Linked DNA regions of Homo sapiens: all the other regions are linked to region 1. The links are contacts of gene promoters, found by promoter capture Hi-C in human tissues and cell types (Jung and others, 2019). All regions are on one chromosome and are shown on one strand. Each heading gives the region's core, a stretch centred on a gene start or on the middle of the fragment in contact. The rest is flanking DNA. Distances are from core to core; before and after follow the strand shown.

What was found. The method cuts DNA at HindIII sites, captures the fragments that hold promoters and counts their contacts. A contact is called where the count stands out against the background at its distance.
Region 2: a fragment that was not itself captured here is called in contact with the fragment with the promoter of FGD2 in region 1 in 1 of the 25 tissues and cell types used here (aorta).
Region 3: a fragment that was not itself captured here is called in contact with the fragment with the promoter of FGD2 in region 1 in 1 of the 25 tissues and cell types used here (heart right ventricle).

The regions. Positions count from the first base shown.
Region 1 is chr6:37,004,405-37,007,738 of GRCh38, reverse strand. FGD2 (FYVE, RhoGEF and PH domain containing 2) reads right to left here and starts at 2,084. Exons shown (of 16, transcript NM_173558.4): 1 at 1,854-2,084. The coding sequence starts at 1,921. RefSeq lists enhancers at 1-118, 1,939-2,068 and a silencer at 2,324-2,486. The HindIII fragment of the contact is 13,068 bases long and covers 1,974-3,334 here.
Region 2 is chr6:37,561,477-37,564,600 of GRCh38, reverse strand. No RefSeq gene overlaps it. Among named protein-coding and RNA genes, the nearest start is that of MIR4462, 7.6 kb to the right of the region's middle. RefSeq lists enhancers at 1,908-2,087, 2,228-2,437, 2,758-2,927. The HindIII fragment of the contact is 3,278 bases long and covers 1-2,900 here.
Region 3 is chr6:36,391,740-36,395,149 of GRCh38, reverse strand. It overlaps PXT1 (peroxisomal testis enriched protein 1), which reads left to right. Exons shown (of 5, transcript NM_152990.4): 5 at 3,276-3,410. The coding sequence ends at 3,380. It overlaps ETV7-AS1 (ETV7 and PTX1 antisense RNA 1), which reads right to left. Exons shown (of 2, transcript XR_926758.3): 2 at 3,327-3,374. Among named protein-coding and RNA genes, the nearest start is that of ETV7, 5.8 kb to the right of the region's middle. The HindIII fragment of the contact is 4,481 bases long and covers 1-3,410 here.

The DNA.
Region 1 (3,334 bases), core at 835-3,334:
CAGGTTCTGCATTTCTGTTCTAGGGCCCCTGGCCAGCTTCTGTTTCCTCTTTGCCCCTCAGTTTCAGATCAGCTGAGGTGCTGGAGACCTCATAAGGAAGCCCAGGCCAAGGCAGTTGGTATGGGTCCCCTCACTCAGTAAGGAGTGGCTCTCACCCTCTTGATGCCTGCTGGGACCTAACTCCCGTCTAAGGGCTGCCCACTCCTGCCAGGGTTATTGCCTGGGCAGAGCACAGCATGCTGAGGGGCTCCACCCAGGTGTGCCTAGTCCACGTCAAGCATGTTGAGTGAGGTGGTACCATCCACCCACACCCAAGGGGGTGGTGGGCCAGGAAGGCGGCACCCAAGAGCTGTCTTTGGTGCTGAACAGGACGAGCTTGGCAAAGATCCCGGGAGAGGCAGGGGAGAATCACCCAGCTCAGGAAGTTGAAGACTTCTAGGTCTACATCTATGCCATCTCCACCCTGAAGCCTACAGGAAACATTGCCTGCCATGAGTGCCCTCAATACAGCATCCGGGCCATTCCTAGGACATCTACTGTCTATGACCTTGCATCATAGTTATTCGATGAGCTCAGCATCCAAATACTGAAACCCTTCTTCATCCTCTACAGTTCCTGTAGGATGCTGTGCTGTGCCACCCATGTCCCTCCTTCAGGAATGAGGCCTCCCCACACCATCCCCACCAGCTACTGGTAGTACTGGGGGCTGCCGGGTAATTTATTGGCTGAGTCCCTCTCTGGGAATCACTCTCTGGAAGAGAGAGCTGCCTCACCCAGAGTCTCTTGTCCAGTCCACATGGAGATACAAATACCCAGCCCTCTTCCTCAGCTGGAACAACCGAGAGGCATCCCAGCTCCAGAGCTCCCTGGGACAGGCTGAGGCCTCTGTGGCAGGTGCACTGCAGTTCAGCATCTCCCCCTGCCCGGCCCTGCTTCCCTCACACCCACAGCTGTTGTTCCCAAAAGCTCTCCCTGATAAATCACCTGAGGCAAACCTCTGTCTGAGTCTATTTCCAGAAAACCCTACCTGGGACAGCCCCTAACACAGTCCTGAGCTTAAGAAATGCCTGCAGAATGGATTGATGCCACACATAACACACAACACACACATACACACACGCGCACACACACAAACACACATGCTCCCAGGGCTACCAATGACTCCACGCATCTGGCCCAGCCTTTTCCCTCCAGACAGACGCCCCAGCATTGCCCCAGATACTTAAAGCACTTGGCATCCTCACCTCTCTGTGTCTCCATTTCCTCATCTATAAGACGGGAACAGAAACAGAATCTACCCCTATTAGGCTGTTCGATGACTAAATTAAATAAGTAAGGACATGAACTTAGAGTAGGGAGTACCCCATCAGGATGCTGCCCGTACATCCTGGTTTGCCTCATACGGTCCCAGCTTTACCTGTAATGCCTCCCCCACAACCACCACATTTTATTTGGCATTTACTTTCAGTTTCAATTGTGTGCTGAATGATAAATTATATGGTTATCCTAATCATAGGGCGTAAATTCTTGGTGAGTATCAGCTACCTTTTCTGAGAGGTGCTGGCAGGCACTGGGTGGGGTCCTGTGCCCACACACAGGCTTTGGTCTGCCCATGCTTGCTCGTAACCACACCTGTCTGGACTCTCCCAACACACACTGGCACTCTCACCCCTGCCTGGCTCCTGGTGTCCCACCGACACTCTCCCATGCTCCAAGGAATCCGTGACCGAGGAACGCGGGGCTGCCCCTGCAGGAGGAGGGTCCGGGGCAGGGCCCAGGGAGAGAGCTGCCAGAAAGGCTGGAGGGTGGCTGCCAGCCCACCATGGTGACCCTCCCACCCCAGCTGCCCATACCTGCTATTCTCAAACACAGTGACCAGGTTGGACACAGATGCCAGCTTCTCCTCACTTGCCCCCTTCATCCTGCCGGTTTCCGGGGTGGATCTCAGCTACCCTCGAAGCAGAGAGAGAGGCCTCCAGCCAGCACACTCAGCCACGCTGGCCTGGGACAGATAGGCTAAATCACCCATGAATCTGTTCTGATCTTTCTTGAGGGCTCAGAAGGTCGGCTCTTGGCTTCAGAGTGAAGAAAGAGGAAGTGGTCCCAGAGCCACAGCCCTGCAGGGGAAAGGCCAGCACTCCCGCAGTGGGAGGAGCCTGCTCGGGCCCCACCTCTCCCTCAGGGGGGCTGACCTTTCACACCTGTAGACCCCCATTCCAGAAGCCACCTAAGAGGTGGCAACAGGGCCCAGAGGTAGCTTCTGGAGCCCAGTCTGGGCTGGTGCAGTGGTTTGCACCTCTAATTCCAGTGCTTTGGGAGGCCGAAGCAGGAGGATTGCTTGAGCCCAGGAGTTCAAGACCAACCTGGGCAACATAGTGAGACACCGTCTCTTAAAAAAAAAAAAAAAAAAAAAGGCCACCCGGAGCCAGACCCTTGGCTGGTTTCTTGGCCTAGTGGTTCCAGCCAACCACACTTTCTCCTTCAGAAGGTCCAGTGGCTTTTACTTGGCCTCTTTCCCAGCACCTTCTTTTCTGCATCTGCCCCTGCTCACAGCTGTAAGGAAATAATGTCTTTTTTATTCTTTAGAGACAGAGTGCGGTGGTGGGATCTCGGCTCACTGCACCCTCTGCCTCCCGGTTCAAGCGATTCTCCTGCCTCAGCCTCCTGAGTAGCCGGGATTACAGGGCCTGCCACCACGCCCTGCTAATTATTTGTATTTTTAGTAGAGATGGGGTTTCACCATGTTGCTCAGGCTGGTCTTGAACTCCTGGCCTCAGGTGATCCTCCTGCCTCGGCCTCCCAAAATTCTGGGATTACAGATGTGAGCCACTGTGCCTGGCCAGGAAACAGCATGTTTTATTTAAAATAATCACAAACCTGGTAAGGGTGGCAGGGAGTACTGTGATGTTCCCACCTCCCCACTGGGGTTCTCTCATTTTAGTTGTTGCTGTCATCACCTCATTGCCCCAAGGGAGGGCAGTTTCCTCCCTGAAACTCAGAGGATAATAATAGCTAACATGCACTCTTTTTCATGCTTATGAGTATTTTCTTATTAATCCTATAACAACCTCATGAGGTAGGTACTATTCCTATCCCCACTTTACATAGGAAGAAACAGAATCAGAGAGGTTAAGTAACTTGCCCAAGGTCACCCAGGAAGAATACAAGAGAAGTTGGATTTCCAAAGCAAAAGTGGGTGTCCTACAGTTCCAGCAAAGGTTCGTTGGGAGCCTGGATGACCATGTTCTTGCTGCTCCATCCCCAGGCCTCCCTGATCCCAGGACACTGGGTTGTCTTTGCCTGAGGCCTCCTTTACCACCTGGTCTCCCGGCCC
Region 2 (3,124 bases), core at 12-2,511, 560 kb before region 1:
TAATTGAATATTCTGTCCTGAGCTCCACAGGTGAAGGCTGGACTAGCAATGTACACAGTGGCGGAAATCCCAAGGGCTATAGAGGCGACTGCCCAGGAGAGAGAATAGAGCAAGGGCCTAGGTCAGAGAAAGACGAAGAAGGAACTGTCAGAGAGAGAAGGAAGCTGGTGGAGCACTGTGTCGCGGTGGGGTCAGGATAGAGGGGCTCTTGAAGGAGGGAGGCCGATCAGATACAGCAGAAAGCACCAATGAGAAAAACACAGGTGTTTCCCACGGATTTGGTGCTGGACCCTCTATTAACAATTCCAGTCTGGCAGTAAACTCAAGGTATATTTAAACTGAGTGATTCAAAGAGAGTTTAATGAAGGTTTAGGCCAGGTGCAAAGGTGTGGGCAGGGTGCAGGGACATCAGCAGGAGATGCTGAAGCCCCAGGGCTTGGAACAGGGGAGCTGGGCCCAAAGGGACATGGACAGAGCCATGGGGAGGGCCTGCTGGACGGGAGCTGTAACCTTGTGTGGAGAGACACAGCAAAGAGCCAGCCCCCTGAAGTCCCGCAGGGAGCACATCAGGAAAATAAAGATCTTGGCTTCACTCTCCTCTCTCTGATCTTCTGTGAGGCTCTCCCTTTGTTGGCCCTCCCTGGCACAGGGAGCCTGGGCCATGCTGGTCACAGAGGTCGGCCTGGGAGCACAGTGCTGGTGGAGGAGGATTCCAAGACAGAGAAGCCTGCCTAGTCATTGGCAGCTTATCAAGAGCATATTCAGGGCTTGGAGGTCACAGAAGCTTTGCTGTTGAGAACTCAGAATAGGACAGACAGGAGAGGATATGAAGACTTGGATGCCTGGGACCCAGGGAGAGTGTTTTTTGTTTTGTTTGTTTTGTTAGAGACAGGATCTCACTATGTTGCCCAGGCTGGAGTGCAGTGGCACAATCATAATCATAGCTCACTGTAGCCTCAAACGCCTGGGCCCAAGCGAGCCTCCTGCCTCAGCCTCCCAAGTAGCTGAGATTATAGGTGCAAGCCACTGTGCCTGGCGAGGGAGAACTTTTTTAGGATAGGAAGTATTTGAGTAGATTTTGACACAGGAAAAGGAATGCAGACACACTGGAGGAAAGGGAGGTGAGAGTTGGAGGCCGGCTGAGGAGGAGGCGGGTGGGGGTGTGGGGGCAGTGGAGGGCTCTCTGGGAGGAGGGACAGAAGGGACTTGATTGGGAGGACAGAGGCCCATCCTCTGCTTCCTCCCGAAAAGGCTGCAGAACAGCCTAAAGCCAGGGGGTGGGTCTTTCAGGCCCAGAAAGGGGAGTGTCTCTCTGCCAAGGACCAGGGCAACGGTCCAAAACAGAGACACACAGCCCAGCCCAGGCCTGAGTGGTGGCTGGAGGGTATGGAGGTGTGAGAAAAGACCCCCATAGTCAGAGAGAAGATTCAGAAGCAGTTTCTGGAATGGACTGGGATCCCACCACTGGGGCCGTCCCAAATCTCCCTTAGCCAGTTTGAGGAACTGAAGCTCACATTCAGCCCAGGTAGCAATTAGAAAAGCTGCTCTTCTCCCTTTTTTTTTTTTTGAGAAGGAGTCTCGCTCTATCGCCCAGGCTGGAGTGCAGTGGCAGGATCTCAGCTCACTGCAACCTCCACCTCCTGGGTTCAAGTGATTCTCCTGCCTCAGCCTCTAGAGTAGCTGGGACTACAGGCACACGCCACCACACCTGGCTAAACTTTTTGTATTTTTAGTAGAGACAGGGTTTCACCATGTTGGCCAGGCTAGTCTCGAACTCCTGAGCTCAAGTGATCTGCCTACTTCGGACTCCCAAAGTGCTGGGATTACAGGCGTGAGCCACCACGCCTATCCAGAAGAGCTGCTTTCTAAAGCACGTACTAGAGGAGTCTCTTACCAGGATGATTTAGCAACCACAGCATCTATGGAGAACTTCAGTATGTGCCAGTGACGAAAGCTTTATACAGATTAACTTCAATGTCATGAAAAATCTCATGGAGCAGCTATTATTATTATTAGTCCCATTTTATAGATTAGAAAACTGAGGCTCTATAAGATTGTATGTTTACATGGGGTCCCACAGCCAGTCAGAAGTGCCAGGATTCCCACCCAGGCCTGCCTGACCCCCAGCACCCTCCTAGAACCACCCCAGGTTGGGAGGGGTAGGGGAGAGCTGGCCTGGGACATTCTCACCTAATAGAAGTCCCAGAAAGCCCCAACCCAGGCTTTCTGCAGTTGTTTCTGCTTGAGTGGAATTCCCATTGCGTTGTTTTACCGCCCTCTGTAAAAGTTACCATTGAAGGACAAAAGACTCGGTGAAAATCTAAAGGGGATTTCTGCTTCTGTTTCTGAACCAGAAGAAAAAGAAGTAGTGAAACCAGGTGCTTCTTGGCTGATCAGCCTGGGAAGAGAGAATTATTAATAACCAGGACCATTTCAGTTGCCAGTAACAAAAACCCAATTCACATTGGTTTAGGAAATCATAATAGCCGATGTCAGCTGCTCACTATATACTAGGCACTGTTCTGAGCACTAATGTGAATCCGTTCATTTAATTCTCAGAAGTATGCTGTGAAATTTACACTAGTATCATCACAGAGGAGACAGAGGCACAGGGATTAAATAAGGTGCTCACATCACTTAGCAAGATTGCAGCCCAGGCTGCTGGGCTCCAAACTTTGGCTAAGGGAGATTTGGGACGGCCCCAGTGGTGGGATCCCAGTCCATTCCAGAAACTGCTTCTGAATCTTCTCTCTGACTATGGGGGTCTCTTCTCACACCTCCATACCCTCCAGCCACCACTCAGGCCTGGGCTGGGCTGTGTGTCTCTGTTTTGGACTGTTGCCCTGGTCCTTGGCAGAGAGACACTCCCCTTTCTGGGCCTGAAAGACCCACCCCCTGGCTTTAGGCTGTTCTGCAGCCTTTTCGGGAGGAAGCAGAGGATGGGCCTCTGTCCTCCCGATCAAGTCCCTTCTGTCCCTCCTCCCAGAGACAAGTCCACCACAGCCTTGGAGAGCAAGCAAACACACTGGCCCATGTCATTATTGAGACCAGGTGGCACTGGATCTAAAACATCTTGTTCCTTTCTCTCAGCTCTGCTTCTTTCGGCCTGGCCACTCATCCCTCC
Region 3 (3,410 bases), core at 331-2,830, 610 kb after region 1:
GTGTTTCTCAAAATAACATCTTTTAGGCCGGGCACAGTGGCTCACACCTGTAATCCCAGCACGTTGGGAGGCTGAGGCCAGGAGTTTGAGACCAGCCTGGGCAACATAGTGAGACCCCTGTCTCTCTCTCTCTCTTTTTTTTGTTTGAGATCCCTGTCTCTACAAAACAATTTTTAAAAAAATTAGCCAGGTGTGGTGGTGTGTGCCTGTAGTCCAGCTACTTGGGAGGCTGAAGTGGGAGGATTGCTTGAGCCCAGGAATTCGAGGCCGTAGTGAGCTATGATTGTGTCACTGCACTTCAACATGGGTGACAGAGGGAGACCCTGAATCTGAAAAAGAAAAAAAAAATCTTCTATTTTGCCATTGAGTTGTGTGGGGTTTTGGTTCAAGTATCTGCTTTTTTTTTTAATTCAGTTTTTTTTTTAAACCCGGGACATATGCTTTTTCTAGATATAAAGCATGTTTTAAAATAGTTAGGCTTCTCATCACTTTTAGAATTTTAAATATGCCTTTGAAATTTTTCTCTCCTTCTGGGTTCTGGAAACTCCTCCCTCCCTGTCCCTACGCCCCTGTCTCTATGCCCCAACAGAGTTGTCACCGGGTCTAGGTACTACACCATCCTCTGTGGTTTCTCCACACCTTTTAGAGTCTCTTTATTTAACTCACCTCGAATTAGCCTAATTTGGGTGTGCCATCTGTTTCCTCTGGGAATCTGACTGATATCATAATGCATAGGGAATTTCTCAGTTTGTTAGAAAGAAGGGAGGGAAACAAACATTTATTAAAACATTTTTTCCAGGTACTGTTTGAGACACTTCTACATGTTTCATTTAATTCCCCCAATAACCCTATGAATTACTGTCATAGGTATTTCAGGAGAAGCAATGGAGTTTCAGAGAGATTACAAAACTTATCAAAGGTCACTTAGCTTCTAAGTGGCAAAACTAGAATTTAAATATATGAGCATCTGACTCAGTGTTCTATACTTTTTCTTGTCTGCCATGCTGAAAGGAAACTCATTCCGTTTTCCTAGCTGATATCGACTATAAGAGGGGGAGAAAAATCCTTTAATGATTTTCGGTTACTAGCAGGACAAAGTCTAAGTTCCTTAGCCTACTGCTAATGGTTTTTCATTCCTTCCTGAATTCATTTCTTCAACTTATATTGAGCACCTGCTGTATGTCAGGCTCTGTTTAAGTACCGGAGATATGGGAGTGATCAAAGAGACAATATTACTGATCTCACGGAGTTTTTAAGGGAGACAAACAGTATCTACACAAATAAAGTATGTAGTTTATCAGATAGAGATACATGCTTTGGAGAAAAATAAAGCAAGGAAAGGGATAAGGAGTGTTGGGGTTTGCAATTTTAAGTAGAGATGTTAAGGGAAGGCCTCATTGAGAAGGTGACTTTTTTTTTTTTTTGAGGCATAGTCTCACTCTGTCATCCAGGCTAGAATGCCATGGCACAAAGTTGTCACCGCAACCTCTGCTCCCAGGTGCAAGCAATTATCATGCCTCAGCCTCCCGAGTAGCTGGGATTACAGGCATGCACCACCACACCTGGCTATTTTTGTATTTTTAGTAGAGGGGGTGTTTCACCATGTTGGTCAGGCTGGTCTCAAACTCCTGGGCTCAAGTGATCCACCAGCCTTGGCCTCCCAAAGTGCTTACAGGCATGAGCCACCAAGAAGGTGACTTCTGAGGAAAACCTTGAAAGAAGTGTGGGACTGAGCTGTGGATATTGGGGAGGAGGCAGAGGATTGGAGGCAGGAGGACAGCAAAGCGCTTGGGGCAGGAGTGCATCTCGTGTGTTTGAAGAATGGCAAGGAGGCCAGTGTGGCTGAAGCTGAGTGAGGGAGAAGGTCATAAAAGATATGGTCAGGGCCAGGCGTAGTGGCTCACGCCTGTAATCCCGGCACTTTGGGAGGCCGGATCACTTGAGGTCGGGAGTTCGAGACTAGGCTGACCAACATGGAGAAACCCTGTCTCTACTAAAAATACAAAAAAAATTAGCCGGGCTTGGTGGTGCATGCCTGTAATCCCGGCTACTCGGGAGGCTGAGGCAGGAGAATCACTTGAACCTGGGAGGTGGAGGTTGTGGTGAGCCGAGATCGTGTCATTGCACTCCAGCCTGGTCAACAAGAGCGAAATTCTGTCTCAAAAAAAAAAAAGATATGGTCAGAAGGGTGGGTGGTGGGCAGATTAGGTAGGGCCTTGAGGTCACTGCAAGGACTTTTTTTCTAAGTGAGGTGGTGCCATCGGAGGGCACTGAGCAGAGAAGCCGCATTTCAACAGTCCACAGAGGGGGCTGTGCTGAGAACAGACTGCAGGGGGCAGGCGGGGGAGCATTTGTGTCTGACCCATGGTCTTCTTTTTCTGATGTTCCGACATAAACAGTTGTTACTTTCTGCTCCAAAATACTTAATATTCACCTCACCTCTTTGCCCATCTAAGTCCTAGACATTATTAATTATTATTATTATTATTGAGACAGGATCTCCCTCTGTTGCCCAGGCTGGAGTGCTGTGGCACAATCACAGCTCACTGCAGCCTCAACTTCCCAGGCTCAGGTGATCCTCCCACCTCAGCCTCCTGAGTAGCTGGGACTACAGGTGTGTGCCACCATGCCTGGCTCAGTTTTTCTAGAGATGAGGTTTCACCATGTTGCCTAGGCTGGTCTCAAATTCCTGAACTCAAGCCATTCACCTGCCTTGGCCTCCCAAAGTGCTGGGACTACAGGCAGGAGCCACCATGCCCAGTCTTCTCTCCATTCTTCTAGCCTCAAGGCAAACTTGCTCACCTCTTTGAAAGAACTAAGAAAGTGTTTTGGGAATCCAGGGGAATAGGTTATCAGCCCTGAAAAGAGTGCCCCAATTTACTGATGAGCCCCAGTTTGTTGAGACCAGCCAAGGCAACATAGTGAGACCCTGTCTGCACAAAATATTTTTAAAAATTAGCCAGACATGGTGGCATGCATCTGTGGTCCTAGCTACTGGGGAGGCCGAGGTGGGAGAATCACTTGAGCCCAGGAGTTTGAGGCCAGGTGGGAAAGACGGTCAGATAGGAAAATATGTCCAGAGGCGTTGTGAGGATATGACCATATGGAAGGTACTGTCCTTCAGCTCATACAATTCATAAAGCAACCCAAGAAGCTTGTTTGCAGCATGGATTGAATTAATATTTTCCATTGTGTTGAATTTTTAACTTTGGATTATTCTATCACTTTTAAAAAAAAAAAAAAACCTTTCTCTGTGTCTCCCTTTTTTCAAATAGGATCTTCAACAGGATGGCAGAGATGCACTAGATCATTTTGTCTTCTTTTTCTTTAGAAGAGTTCAGGTGTTGCTGCATTTTTTCTGGAACAACCATTTGCTGTAAAAGGAAAGTAAAGGTCAAGTGGTCAAGTTC